Linked DNA regions of Homo sapiens: region 2 is linked to region 1. Evidence: promoter capture Hi-C in 16 types of primary human blood cells and fetal thymus (Javierre and others, 2016). All regions are on one chromosome and are shown on one strand. The core of a region is centred on a gene start or on the middle of the fragment in contact, and the rest is flanking DNA. Distances in the headings are between cores, read along the strand shown. Region 1 holds the start of NOP14 (NOP14 nucleolar protein). Region 2 overlaps TNIP2 (TNFAIP3 interacting protein 2).

Region 1 (7,244 bases), core at 3,227-5,726:
AGATGCTCCAGCAGGGACAGAAGCACGACCTGGCCCTCCTTTCCATTTAGAGCACATTCCATCTGGAGAGGTCAACCGAAATATTAATCATGTGGACAGGAGAAAAGGATGTGAAAAAACCATTTCTCTTATCTCACTTTGAAATGTGAAAGTGCTATTATTACACTTAAAATGCATGAAAAACCCCTCTGCTACCTGAAGAGTAGGAAACCATCCATTAGTTCAATAAATACTGCCAAGGCAATTTTCGTCATTTTCTTCAAGAATATTTCAAGAACCAATTTGTTTCAACTGACACACGCTGAGTTATTAATCCCTAGTAACTTCTAGTAACTTCCTACCGTGGCAGTGCTAAACAATGTTTGTTAAAAACACCTTTGGGGCCGGGCGCGGTGGCTCACGCCTGTAATTCCAGCACTCTGGGAGGCCAAGGCGGGCGGATCACGAGGTTAGAAGATCAAGACCATCCTGGGTAACATGGTGAAACCCCGTCTCTACTAAAAATACAAAAAAATTAGCCGGGTGTGGTGGCGGGCGCCTGTAGTCCCAGCTACTCAGGAGGCTGAGGCAGGAGAATGGCGTGAACCCGGGAAGTGGAGCTTGCAGTGAGCTGAGATTGTGCCACTGCACTCCAGCCTGGGCGACAGACAAAGACTCTGTCTCAAAAACAAAAAAAAACAAAAAACACAAACAAACCACCTTGGGTACAATTTCCTGAACCAGAGTCTAAAGACAGCGAGTGTCCCCAGATAGACCAGAGGGCTCCATCGCCATTGCTCTGTTCTCTCCGCTTCTGTTACGAGCCATTCCAGAGCGAGATCCTGCTGGATGCTGATAGTGAACCACACACAGTACTGAATCAGGTTAAGCTCTCTGAACCTTCACCATTCTTTATCCGCAGAGCAAAATTTTAAAACAACATCTCACTATTTAAATCACAAGGTCTAGCTGGCAATCAGATGGGAGCACATTACATGTGCTAGCCTGTACTGCTCGATGAACTCTGTACGGACAGAGGCTGCTTGCATGCTACACTGAGACCTTTTTTTTTTTTTTTAAAGATGGAATCTCGCTCTGTCGCCCAGGCTGGAGTGCAGTGGCACAATCTCAGCTCACTACAACCTCCACCTGCCGGGTTCAAGCAATTCTCCTGCCTCAGCCTCCCCAGTAGCTGGGATTACAGGCGCACGCTGCCACGCCCAGCTAATTTTTTTGTATTTTTAGTAGAGATGGGGTTTCACCGTGTTGCCCAGGCTGGTTTCGAACTCCTGAGCTCAGGCAATCTGCCTGCCTCGGCCTCCCAAAGTGCTAGGATCACAGGTGTGAGCCACCAAACCCAGCATACACCGAGAAGACTTCTGAGGTCTGTCCCTGCAGAGGGAGGGAGTGTCACTGGCTTCTAGCAGGAAGGGGGTAGATGGGGCAGGCATCAGCCATCTCTGCCTCTAAAAATATTAGTTCTCATTATCTGGAATATGATTCTATGGGTAAATCTTAGTGAAGAACAGCCCTTAGGCTATAAATACGTAATATGAGTTATTCTACATTATTGTGATTCTCTTTCTTTCTTAAACTATATAGATGTTGTGACATCATATGGAATTTACGGCATAAAATGGGGATAACAGTACTTCCCCCTCATAACGGTGAGGATTAAATGTAAACCGTGTGGCACAAGGCCTGACCAACTGTAAGGGACCAGTAACTATATTATTAATATAGTTACTATATATTATTATATTAATATTATATTAATATTATAATCACATTAATATTAATATATTAATATTATAATCACATTAATATTAATATATTAATATTATAATCACATTAATATTAATATATTAATATTATAATCACATTAATATTAATATATTAATATTATAATCACATTATCAATATATTAATATTATAATCACATTATCAATATATTAATATTATAATTACATTATTATTATATTATTATATCAATATTATATTAATATTATATCGATATTATTTTAATATTATATCAATATTATTATATTAATATTATATCAATATTATATTAATATTATATCGATATTATTTTAATATTATATCAATATTATTATATTAATATTATATCAATATTATATTAATACTACATCAATATTATATTAATACTATATTAATATTATAATAATATATTAATATTTTAATAATATATTAATATTATAATAATATATTAATATACTAATATAATAATATATTAATATGCTATTACAATAATATATTAATATGCTAATATTATAATAATATATTAATATATTAATATTGTTAGTATATTAATATATAGTAACTATATTAATAATATAGTTAGTATATTAATATATAGTAACTATATTAATATAGTTACTGATTTAAGAACTACATTAATATAACTTATTTTATAAATTATTTCAGAAATAAGGAAACTGAGGCACAGCTATAAAGCAATGTCCTGAGACTGGCACCTGGGGGCTGCCCTCTTCCTGCCAGACTGAGTGCCTCAGAGTGCTACAACTGACCAGAGGGGAGAAGCCAACTGAGGCAGCCTGTTTACTTCTAAGGGACTAACCCACATGAAAAGACCCAGGCCTCCTGCGCCGGCCTCACGGCCCCTACACGCGTTATCAAGCTTGGAGTCAACTGGACGACCTGCTGTCCCTCAGACAGCTGTGAGTGCCACACTTCACCATACCGGGACAATGTGCCTTTGCATGTGTGTCCTCTGCCCACCCTGGGCCCATGAACAGCTCACTCCCCTTGCAAAACTTGACTGTAACTCCCTCTAGAAGAATTTTTGGACTTTCCTAACTATTACACTTTTTCCTGACCGGGATCTCCTAAGGCACTCAGGTTCCATCTTTGATTTCTTCAAATATTTGTGTTTCTTCCAAGGGCCAAGCATTGGAGATCCAAAAAGGAGCAGCAATTCCCGTCCCCGTCCCAGGCCTTCAGCACAGGGCAGGGAGGTGGATCTGCTCAATACCAGAAGTTTGAGCAACCTGTCCTATTTGGGTTACATAGCTTGGGTGGTGAACCTGAGCTGGCCCTTTAGAGACTTTCGGAGGTAAGGCAGACCTTTTGGACAAACTGAGTTGCAAGAGGCGAAGCAAGGACAACAGCCAGACTGTGCGGGACTCGAACGACAAGCCAAGAAGGTTAAGAATAACAGTATTTAGAGAACACTTGCTGTGTGCTCTATGTGCTATCTTACTTAATTCTCACAAACCACCACGAGGGGTAGGATGTATACTATCATCTCTACTTTTGAAATGAGAAAACTGAGGCTTCAGTGGTGAAGACAAATGTGTCTCTTCTAGGGAACCACACTACCTTATTCTCCCACCCCGGCCCGGGGGTGTGTAATGAGGGACTCCTATCGAAGTCAGCTGTAAGTCTATCTTGCCTATTCATTATACAGGCTGTCGTCTTCGCGCAGTAAGGATAATATGTGTTTTGATTCAAAGACCATCCAGCTTGCACACTGTGATGAACAGAGATCAGGAGCTCATGAAGGCAAGGGCAAGTCTTATTTACCTTTATCTCCCCGAACCTAGAAGCGAGGTCAAACAGAAGCGCTCGGGGTAGCAAGAAGGCTTTGTAGATATTGAAATGTGAATGCATGCCCAGCCCTTACCAGGTGCGTGACCTTAGGAAATGCACTTGTCCTTTCTGTGCCTTAATTTTTTCACCAACCTGCTAATGTATGTTCCTCAGTGAAAATTTAAAAAAAAAAAAGTTAAAAAAACTAGGAAGCAATGAGTTTCCATAGAGTTACTTCCCAAGGAACAAGGTTACGCGCTTCGGGAGAGAGCCGATGAAACATCAAACGCAGCATCCTACACAGCCCCTATCCACCGTCCCCAAACCTGCAGAGCTCAAAGTAAACGCGGAAGGGTTAACAAGCAGCTTGGTCCAGGGCGCCGCCCGAAGTGACTGACTCGGCCTGACCCGGTTGGAGGAGTCGCCGAAATAACACGAGTGCAGGGTCTCCAAGACGGCGAGAGTTTCCAGGTCACTCCAGCTCAGAGAACAGCAGAGGCTTTCGGACTATCAAGTCAGTGCCGTGTGCCTGTCACGGCCTGTGCCGCTCAACGAGGAAACCGACGCACCGAGAAGGACGCAGCCGGCCGAGAGCAGCGTGGGGTCCAGATCCTGCCTTCCGGCTCCCCGTGCGCCCCCCGCTTACCTTCCTGAGGGCCCGTGCGCGAGACACCCCGGGCAGTCCCACGTCGTGGCGCGTCTTCCGGCCCAGGATCTGGAACTTCTGCCTGTTAACTTTCACCTCGAACGGATTGGAGTTGGCCTTCGCCGGGCCCCCTCGCGCTCCCGCCGGCGCCCCGGAGGCCTTCCTTCGCGCCCCGACCTTCTTCGCCTTCGCCATGGCGCGCGCCCCGCTGCGCCCAAGGGCCCGAGACCCGAAGAGAGACAGGCGCGCGCTACCCTAAGACACGTGCCGGGCCGCGGAACCGCTTCCTCGTCTCGCGAGAACAGCGCAGCACCTCCGACTCGCGAGAAGTAAACACCGCGCCCGCAGGCTCGGCTTACTCGCCGATAGGCTCAGCGACTACAACTCCCAGCAGGCCACGCGCCGCGGCCCGCCGTGTACTCTTGGCGCAGGGCCTTCTGGGAGCTGTAGTGCCCCGGCCGCGGCGGCGAGGGGCGCTCCCTCTTCAGCTAAGCCGTTAGCGCCGAGCCCGCCCGGGAGCGGGTCGCCGGCCGCGGCGGGCGCCCCTGCCAGTGAGCCCCTGTCCGAAGTGAGCCACGGCATTGACTCGGGGCTGCCCGGGGGCAGGGCACTGAGGAGGGAGTTGCGCGCGCGAGGCGAGGGCGATGGGGCCAAGAAGAACCGGGGCGATAGCGCGGCAGCGGTGACAGCTGGGACCCGCCGCGGTCGGGCTGCCCCCTCCCCTCGCCCCGACCGCTCCCCTGCTGGTGAGGGCCTGCGGAGGCGGCGGCGGCGGCGCCCTTGGTGGCAGTGGTGGCGGCGGAGCAGCCTCCCGGGATCGTGTCCGGAGCTCGAGGAGAGGGTGGTGCCCGGCGAGCTATGCACGGGGGCGGCGGCGTCTCCTCCTGTTCCGCCTCCTCAGTCTCCTCGGTCTCGCAGAATCCGCCGGCGGCGGCGGCGCCAGGACATGGAGCTCGAGAACATCGTGGCCAACTCGCTGCTGCTGAAAGCGCGTCAAGGTGGGTGCGCGGCAGGCGCCCCCGACCCCCCCCCCAGAGAACCCCGAATCCCGGGGAACCCTGGCCCCCCTGAAGGAACCCGACATCCCCGGAGAACCCCGATTTCCCTGGAGAGCCCCGACACCTCCCACTGGGGGAACCCAGATCTGCACGGAGCCGGAGCCGGGGTCTGTGCAGTGTGGTCAGGCTGCCCGGGCCAGGTCCCAGTCCCCATCTCCTGGCCCAGATGAGAGAAGTCTGCGCTTTGCTCTTCTTAGTCTTGCCCTGTGTCCTTGTCCTGTCCTCTCGGTGTGACCTCGGTGACAGTGTTGCTTCAGGATGCGGCAGGCAGTGTCCTGCTTGTGTTGGACAACCTGTCCCACCAAAAAAGAACGGCGTCTTTATGGTCTTAAGGGGGACAAAGAATAGCAGCCTGGGAACTACTCTGGGCGAGAACCTTCCGATAATGATTGTAGGGCAATGTTATTTTTAACATAGCTGCTTGGTTTTGAGGTTTGATCTGAGGCTCTATGGTGTGTCAAGTGTGCTTTAGCACGACGTGGTCACAGATGGACAAGTTGGCAAAAATTCAGCCTTTTATCATTATTAAAGTGAGGCAGAAATTTAAAAATAGTAATAAGTACTGCATTCATTCACTCCAAGAAAAGAAAAAGCCAAGGCCCAGAATGTGGCAAGGCAAGGGTTAAAAAGAAAAGAAGAACAAGTTTTCTTTTGCTTAGCAAGCTCACTTTAAGGACAGTTATAAGATAACGCTGTTCTGTTTGAGAAGTCGAATCCAAAGGAATAGGCTCCAGACACCCCCCTTCCAGAGCAGGGGTGAAGAAAAAAAAAAAAGAGGACAAATATCTGTGTTTAGCCAGTTCTTGGTTTTTTCTTTCAACGCAGCTACAAGGCCACCAGCTATGCAAGGCCACAAGTTATGCCAAGTCATCAGTTATGCTATAGATTATGTGACCTGTCATTATATGATTAACTGCCTTTGTTTTGCTTCTGTAAGTTTGCTTATAAAAATCCTGCTTAGTCTTTGTTCAAGGCTCAGCTTTTTGGATGTGAATCCACTGAGCTGGTGCGTACCTTAACATAAATATCCTCCTGTTTTCACCCATGCTGGTCTCTCTAGTCCTCTGCATCCCGCCACAAAAGCATCAGTTGGTCCAGCCCTTCAGCGGGAGACCCCCACAATCCTCTGTGCAATCCTCTGTCTCGGACCTCATGTCTCCCTTGCCTGCGTCTCAAGAGAGCTGGCGACAGAGCCTCGGACCTCAAGTCCCTGTGCTAGCCACGGTAGTTCTTCACACCCCGTCACTCTTACGGAATTGCTGATTTCCTCTATTTCCTTGCGTGATGGAGCAGCTCTGCTCGGACTGTGCTCCAGGACAGTGTAAATGCCGACTGAAGATGCCACAGCAGCCGGCGATGCATATTTAAAGGACAGTCTGGAGCCGAAGGTGGCGGCCACGCTTGTAGTCCCAGCTACTCTGGAAGCTGAGGTGGAAGGCTCACTTGGGCCCAGGAGAGTCCAGCCTGGGCAAAACACAGCAAGACCATCTCTTTAAAAAAGTCTAAAACAAAGACTTCATCTTCTCAGTATTTTTGTGCACCAACTCACACTATTTTGAATAGAAGAACTGAGAATGGGTGGGAAGAGAATGGGATCTTTTTCCCTTAAGATAATCAGGGAGTCCCAGAGCAGTATGCGTTCTCAGCAGCCATTTTCAGTGGAGCATTTGACTGTGCCTCTTATCCCTGACTGTGAACTCCAAATAGGTCATGGAAAATAATCATCCTTAGTGGAAGTCAGATTGAAGCTAAGCCAGTTTTCTTTTTACACTACCTTCCTATCTGCATGTAATTTACAAAAAGGAACTATACCAAGCCGCCTTCCTTATAATGCTGCAGAGATTAGATAATGAGATAAATACAAGTGCTCTATAAATGCTAAATAACATAAAACCAGATTCTGTCACAAAACCTAAGACCACAGTGATAGTTTGAAAAATGAAAGTTTTGGCCGGGCACGGTGGCTCACAGCTGTAATCCCAGCACTTTTG
Region 2 (7,105 bases), core at 2,461-4,960, 210 kb before region 1:
TCACGGTGAAGGCAGCTGACAAAGCTGCTCAAGCCAGCACCCAGTGTGAATTATGTATTAGCAGTGATTCGCTGAGTGAGAGTTTCCTCTTAAATGGAAGCTGCCCCTCCCTGTTCTGTAGAGAGCAGACACTAGGCCCGCTAGAGAATCCTGAGGCAGCACGATGACACCCGTACGCAAGCAGCATGAACGGAGGTGGACTCGGTGCAGCTTTGCTGTCTTAGAAAATGGACCTCCTGCTGCTAACTCTTGCATCTCCTTTACTGACTTGTGGATTAATTTTAGGGGGATGGAGATGGACAGGACATGTCCCGTACGTCGTTTTAAGCAAAAAAGTCCAGTCTCTAGGGACTGTGTGTATCAAGTCCTAGTGGCCAGAGGGCGGGGGGCGACTCTGGGCATCAGCCAAGGAAAGAACCCTCACTTACAGTTTGTAAGCCATGTGTTCTTCTCAAACGAAATGTGAAAGACACTCACGTGAGTCACCTTCTGTTTTAACAGTCGATTTTCTTCCTGCAACTTCTCAATAACACTCTGGACAGAGGTGTGCCCATCTGTGTGTTCCGACTGCATGAGGAAGGGACAGAGAGAAGACACTCTGTCACATACAGCAAGAGGGGAGAAAGCTAGACCCAGAGGCTGAGGCCACAGATTATCACTGCGTCCCCCAGTGCAGCGGGTAGTGATCATTCATTTGGTAGAGAAGCAAAGCAGGGACAAGGGACCACCTTCTCCCTGCCCAGGCCCACCCCACCTGGCCCAGGCCAGAGCCCGGATGGGAGGTCTTCAGGCCACACCACCTTTCACACTGTCCTTATCCCGTCCCACCTACCAGTTTGAGCTGTTTGTCTTTTAAATATTTGGAATGTAAATATTCTAAAGCCATAATGTCTGCAGGGATTGGCACACCAGACATGATAAAGTCTTCTCATTGCCAGAGATTTGCCATTATCACAGACAGCAGGGAAGGCAGGAAGCTGAATCCCATTGTAAACCAGAGGATCTCCAGTGAGGGGGCCCCCAGCTGCCCAGGGTGGGCCTGGCCATGCACCCTGCTTACCTCCTTTGGAGCCCATGACACTGTCCTGTCTGCAGACAATCGGGTTCAACCAGGTGATTCTGGACACAGGAATCTAACCTCTGCCCCACGCAGGGTCAGGAGTCACCGAAGCCACAACCCAAACCAACCCCCACTAACAACTACAGAGCTGAATGAAAAGTCTCCTGAAACTCGTGTGTACCCTACAATTCTGACTGTATCTCAGTGACATAATTTTTGAGAATTCCCCTCAAATGACAAAGGAAGTGCACGTCCTAACACAGCCTACACCGGGAAGCCCCGGGTGACTCAGCTGAGTTCAGGGCTGAGAAGTGACACTTATTTAGAGACTGTGATGAGGGCCTACCCTGCCACTGGCCCCACCCCCGCCTCAGGCTCAACACTGTGTGTGGCTCCTTTCAAATCCCCAGAGGGAAATGACACAGTGACTCAAAATCAGACCAGAACACCCTGCCTCCGCCCAGACGGCACTTTTCCTCTGGTTTCTGAATGCAGCTGTGTCCTCTCTGAGGTTCCCCGCCTGGAATCCACCCAGCTGAGGTGGGCAGTTCTCAGACCAACCTTCTCCCCAGTGGGCGCCTCGGTGAAGCTGCTGATGGGTGCGGGATGTACTGTCTGCCACAGAACATCCCAGCGCGTGTGTTTCTGCATGAACCTTGGTGCTGCCTCAGAGAACTGCCTAGAAAGGACCCGAGCGAGAGGCCCTGTGCCCGGCAGTGCGAGTGAGATGGGGTCTCAGCCTAGGTGAGATGTGCACGGAGTGCCTCCATTCCCCTGCCTGCCACACACAGACCACCACAAGCACCAGCAAGATGGAAGGTGCCTGGCACACAGATGCCTTGGGCCACTGCTCCCCTACTTTTCTGCCTAGGAGCCCCCTGGTTTCTCCTGATGCTGAAACTCCCACGGTCCTTCTCTCTCCCACTAGACCCCACAGAGAGCTACAGCCCAGATCCAGCCTATCCTGGAGGTCCAGCGAACCCTTCTTTGGCCCTCACTGTCACTTGGTGCCGCTGCCCCCGGCCCTTGCTTTGATGATGAGGAGGCTGTGGCCCTGAGCCAGGTCTCCAAGCTTGCGGGAGGCCGTGCTGCTGGCAAGGACATGCCTAAAGCCAGCTTTGGAGATGGCGGTTCCAGCTGTGCCTGCATGCACTCAGACACACTGAGCCTGAAGAAGGCGGGCACTCACGGTCCTTCCAGGAGTTTGGGGTGTGGAACTGGAGGCACTCCCCATCCCCAGCAGTACCACCTGGCTCTGCTTCAGTTTCCTCGGATGGAGGATGTGACTACACTTCCTCCAGGCAGCTCTGCCAGGCTCAGCTCCTCCTCCTCATCCTCAGCTGAGGCAGATGAAAGCCAAGTGCCATCTCCCACCTGGGAGCGGGGTCGGCCACAGGCCTGGTGCTGGGCAGTGAGGTGGCTGCCTGCTTTCCTATTACATTTTGCATGTTCCATCATTTTAAAAGAAACCCTTGGATGAGTGAGCTTTGCCCCGTCAGCTGACTCTCGTTACTGAGAACAGAAGTGGGTTCTGGGGCGCCCCCCCACCTCTGTGATCAGGGGCCTGTAGGCGATGCTCCCAGCACACAGAGGTCTTCCCCACACTCTGCTTACACTGTGGCCTACCTGGTCAGGACTTCTCTCCCCCACATTCCTTTGTGCATGCTGTCGTTCATCCAGACACTTGGCCAGATGCTGACACATGTGGGCGGTGGCGGTCAGCGTCCTCCGCAGCTGATGGGTCTCGTTGGCCAAGGAGCGGCACAGGACGTCACTGGCGGCCCGGGCGCGCTCCCCTTCTGCCATGCTCCTCCGTAGCAGGACGACTTCCTTCTCTCGCTCGTGTTGGGGCTGGCTCAGCAGCTGCTGCATCTCCCTCTCTTTTTCTTCTAGTCGCTCAGTCAGCCTCTCAATTTCCTAAGTGGAAGATTTAAAAGCACAGTTTACTGAATTAAAAGAAGCAGTGTCAAGAGCAAATGTTCAGAAAGCAAAAGAAGACCTGGCGTGGATGCCCCATCACCAGACACAAACATACTCACTCAGAAGTTGGGCGTTTGAACTAACAATTACTCACTCAGAAGTTGGGCATTTGAACTATTAACTCTGGAGTTTTTCAGCCTACAATGTTCTGTTCTGAAACTTCATCTCAAATTTTTTTTTTTTTTGAGACAGAGTTTCACTCTGTTGCCCAGGCTGGAGTGCAATGGCACAATCTTGGCTCGCTGCAACCTCCACCTCCCAGGTTCAAGCGATTCTCCCACCTCAGCCTCCTCAGTAGCTGGGATTATAGAGCCCACCACCAAGCCCAGCTAAAAGAATTTTTTTTTTTTTTGAGACGGAGTCTCGCTCTGTCGCTCAGGCTCGAGTGCAGTGGAGCGATCTCAGCTCACTGCAAGCTCCGCCTCAGAGGTTCACACCATTCTCCTGCCTCAGCCTTCCGAGTAGCTGGGACTACAGGCACACGCCACCACGCCCAGCTAATTTTTTGTATTTTTAGTAGAGATGGGGTTTCACCATGTTAGCCAGGATGGTCTCGATCTCCTGACCTCATGATCCGCCTACCTCGGCATCCGCCCACCTCAGCCTCCCAAAGTGCTGGGATTACAGGCGTGAGCCACCACGCCTGGCCCAATTTTTATATTTTTAGTAGAGACGGGGTTTCACCATGTTGGCCAGGCTAATCTCGAATTCCTGACCTTAGATGATCCGCCAGCCTTGGCCTCCCAAAGTACTGGGATTATAGGCGTGAGCCACTGCGCCCAGCAATTTTTTTTTTTTTTTTTTTGAGGCAGGGTCTCACTGTCACCCAGGCTAGAGTGCAGTGGCACAATCATGGCTCACTGCAGCCTCGACCTCCCCAGGCCCAAGCGATTCTCCATCCTAACCTGAGTAGCTGGGACTACAGGCACGTGCCACCGTGCCTGGTTAACTTTTTTGTATTTTGTAGAGACAGGGTTTTGCTGTGATGCTCAGGCTGGTCTTGAACTCCTGGGCTCAAGAGATCCACCCGCCTTGGCTTCCCAAAGTGCTGGGATGACAGGTGTGAGCCACCACGCCCTGCCAAATTCTATTTTCACAAGCAAGTTCATAATTTTAGATTTCATATCATCAAAATGTTTTTTTGAGATGAGGGTTTCGCTATATATAGCCCAAGCTGGTCTTAAACTCCTAGGCTCAAGCAAATCCTCCCACCTCAGCCTCCTGAATAGCTGGGACTACAGGCTCAAGCCACCACACCCAGTTATCATCAAATTATCAAAGTGGCAATTCCAAGCACTTTTTTGATGGGATAGGTAGAAACTCCACTGTGGTGGGTAACCCCAAAAAGATGTCCACAACCAAACCTCCCATTCCCCGGTATCTGGGAATGAAACCTTACTTAGAGATAGGGTCTTTGCAGATGTAATTAGTTAAGGTGGGGACAAAATGGATTAGGACGGGACTGGTGTCCTTGTAAGCAGACAGAAGTCTGGACAGACACACAGAGAGAAGACGACCACGTGACAACAAAGATAGGAGTGACGTCTTGTCTTGTGGATAAAGGCCAAGGAACACCAAGGATTGGTGGCCCCCACAGGAAGCTGAAGAGGCGAGGAAGGGTCCTTCCCTAGAACCTTGAGAGAGAGCCGATGCCTTGGTTTCTGGCTTCTGGCCTCTAGAACTGTGAAAGATTAAATTTCTGTTGCTTGAAGCCCCCCAGTTTGTGTTACTTTGTTACAGCAGCTCTAGGAAATTAACACACCCAACCCCAATTACTTCTTAAAGAATTTAAAAAGGTTCTTAAAATGACAATTTTATTTTGAGATAGGGTCTCGCCCTGTCACCCAGGCTGGAGTACAGTGGTGCCACCATGGTTCACTGTAGCCTCCACCTCCCAGACTCAAGTGATCCTCTTGCCTCAGCACCCTAAGTAGTTGGATTACAAGTGCATGCCACCGTACCTGGCTAATTTCTGTATTTTTTGCAGAGACAAGGTTTCACCACTTTGCCCAGTCTGGTCCTGGACTTGAGTGATCCGCCTGCCTCAGCCTCCCAAAGTGCTGGGATTATAGGCACGAGCCACCACATCTGACCTGACAATTTTTTAATATCTGGCCTTAAATTTGTACTTTTCCGTTTTCAAAGAATCCTCCAAAATAAACAGTACATTACATGAAGGAGGTGAAGCAGGCTCAACTAGTCCATCCCACAAGTGAAGAAACAGTTTCAGAAAAGTCACGGAGGAGCCCAAGCTTCCCCCAGAAGTGGCGGGAGAAGGGTCCAGCCTCTGTGTCTAGTACTTGAGGTAAGAAGGGACAGAGACCGGGAACCTAGAATGTTCTCATCACAATGGAACAAAATACTAAGCCCTATTACTGCGAGAACCCTGATTATTATTATTATTATTATTATTATTATTATTATTTTATTATTTTAGAGACAGGGTCTCGCCCTGACACCGAGGCTGCAATACAGTGGTATAATCACAGCTCACCGAAGCCTTGAACTCCTGGGTCCAAGTGTTCCTCCCGTCTCAACCTCCCAAATAGCTGGGACCATGGGCTCGAGGTCAAGGCTGCAGTGTGCTGTGACGGTGCCACTGCACTCTAGCCTGGGTGACAGTGAGACCCTCTTCAGGGATAAAGGACTTTGAGCAAAACCTGACTTCTGGTTTTTTTTTTTTTTGATAAAGACAGGGTGTGGCTATGTTGCCTAGGCTGGTCTTGAACTCCTGGCCTCAAGCAATCCTCCTCCTGCCTCAGCAGGGGTCACCGTGCCCAGGTAAAATCTGATTTCGGAGCCTCCTTCCTGCGTTGGTCAAATGCTGACAGTAGGAGAAACAAACAGCTCCACAAACAGGAGGGCAGCATGTCCACAGCTCGTAGATCCTGAGGGCGTGGCTCTCTCTTGCCTCCACACCCTAGTACTCAACACTGAGCCCAGCCCCACACAGATGCCCAGTAAATGGGAATAAGACTGGGCCATACAGAGACAGATCAGGACGCAGGCTCTACGCTCAACCCGTGGGGGCAGGCCAGCCCTGCAAAGGGCTGCCCCACTCATCCTCCCCTCGGCAGCATGAGGGCCCCAGGACCCCTCCAGCCCCCGGGCTTCTGGCATTTGTCACTGGCTCTGAAGTTGCAGAGCTTTGTGCTGGTTTATCTGTCTGAGTGCCTTGTCCAGTTAGTAACAGTTCTTAGGACACAACAGCACCTCGACCACTGTGGTCAGAAAACAAGGTACGAGCTGGAGTTGTGGGTCTACACACACAGGCACAACACACAGACTAGTCAGCAACTGGGCTGACATCTCTCAGGAAAGCCTGTCGCCGGGACCCACAACTCCATAGCTCCACGCTCAGAACACAAAAGTGTAAACAGCTCTATTAATAGTCTTGTGGATTGGCCTTAAGAGGCACAGTGGCCTCTTGGCTTTTAGCGCTGCGGCAACAAAGTATCACAAACTTGGTGTCTTAAACAACAGAAGTGTATTCTCCCAAAGCCTGTAATCCCAGCACTTTGGGAGGCCGAGGTGGGAGGATCACTTGAGCCCAAGGGTTGGGACTAGCCTGGGCAACATGGCGAGACCTTGTCTCTACAAAAAATACAAAAAACATTAGCCAGGCATGGTGGTGGGCGTTTGTAGTCCCAGCTACTCGGGAGGCTGAGACAGGAGGATCACTTAAGCCCAGGAGGTCAAGGCTGCAGTGAGCTATGATCATGCTACTGCACTCCAGCCTGGGCAACAGAGTGACCCTGTCAAAAAGAGGGGAGGGGAGGGGAGGAGAAAGGAAGAAAGAAAGGAACAAGGAAGGTGGCCCGGGGCGGTGGCTCATGCCTGCAATCCCAGCACTTTGGGAGGCTGAGGTGGGTGGATCACGAGGTCAGGAGTTCAAGACCAGCCTGGCCAACATGGTGAAACCCCGCCTCTACTAAAGATACAAAAAATTAGCCAGGCGTGCTGGTGGGCGCCTGTAGTCCCAGCTACCCAGGAGGCTGAGGCAGGAGAATCGCTTGAACCCGGGAGGTGGAGGTTGCACTGAGCCAAGATCCCGCCACTGCACTC

The links. The method cuts DNA at HindIII sites, captures the fragments that hold promoters and counts their contacts. A CHiCAGO score of 5 or more calls a contact.
Region 2: a fragment that was not itself captured here is called in contact with the fragment with the promoter of NOP14 in region 1 in 2 of 17 cell types (naive B cells and non-activated CD4 T cells); the score reaches 5.3 in naive B cells.

The regions. Positions count from the first base shown.
Region 1 is chr4:2,958,930-2,966,173 of GRCh38, forward strand. It overlaps NOP14 (NOP14 nucleolar protein), which reads right to left and starts at 4,477. Exons shown (of 18, transcript NM_001291978.2): 1 at 4,196-4,477. The coding sequence starts at 4,390. It overlaps GRK4 (G protein-coupled receptor kinase 4), which reads left to right and starts at 4,642. Exons shown (of 16, transcript NM_182982.3): 1 at 4,642-5,193. The coding sequence starts at 5,142. RefSeq lists enhancers at 3,035-3,104, 4,135-4,668, 4,669-5,202 and silencers at 4,665-5,094, 5,265-5,314. The HindIII fragment of the contact is 6,609 bases long and covers 2,637-7,244 here.
Region 2 is chr4:2,744,969-2,752,073 of GRCh38, forward strand. TNIP2 (TNFAIP3 interacting protein 2) reads right to left here. Exons shown (of 6, transcript NM_024309.4): 2 at 2,687-2,977; 3 at 478-567. Among named protein-coding and RNA genes, the nearest start is that of TNIP2, 7.8 kb to the right of the region's middle. RefSeq lists enhancers at 1-374, 970-1,409, 2,820-2,869. The HindIII fragment of the contact is 3,160 bases long and covers 2,131-5,290 here.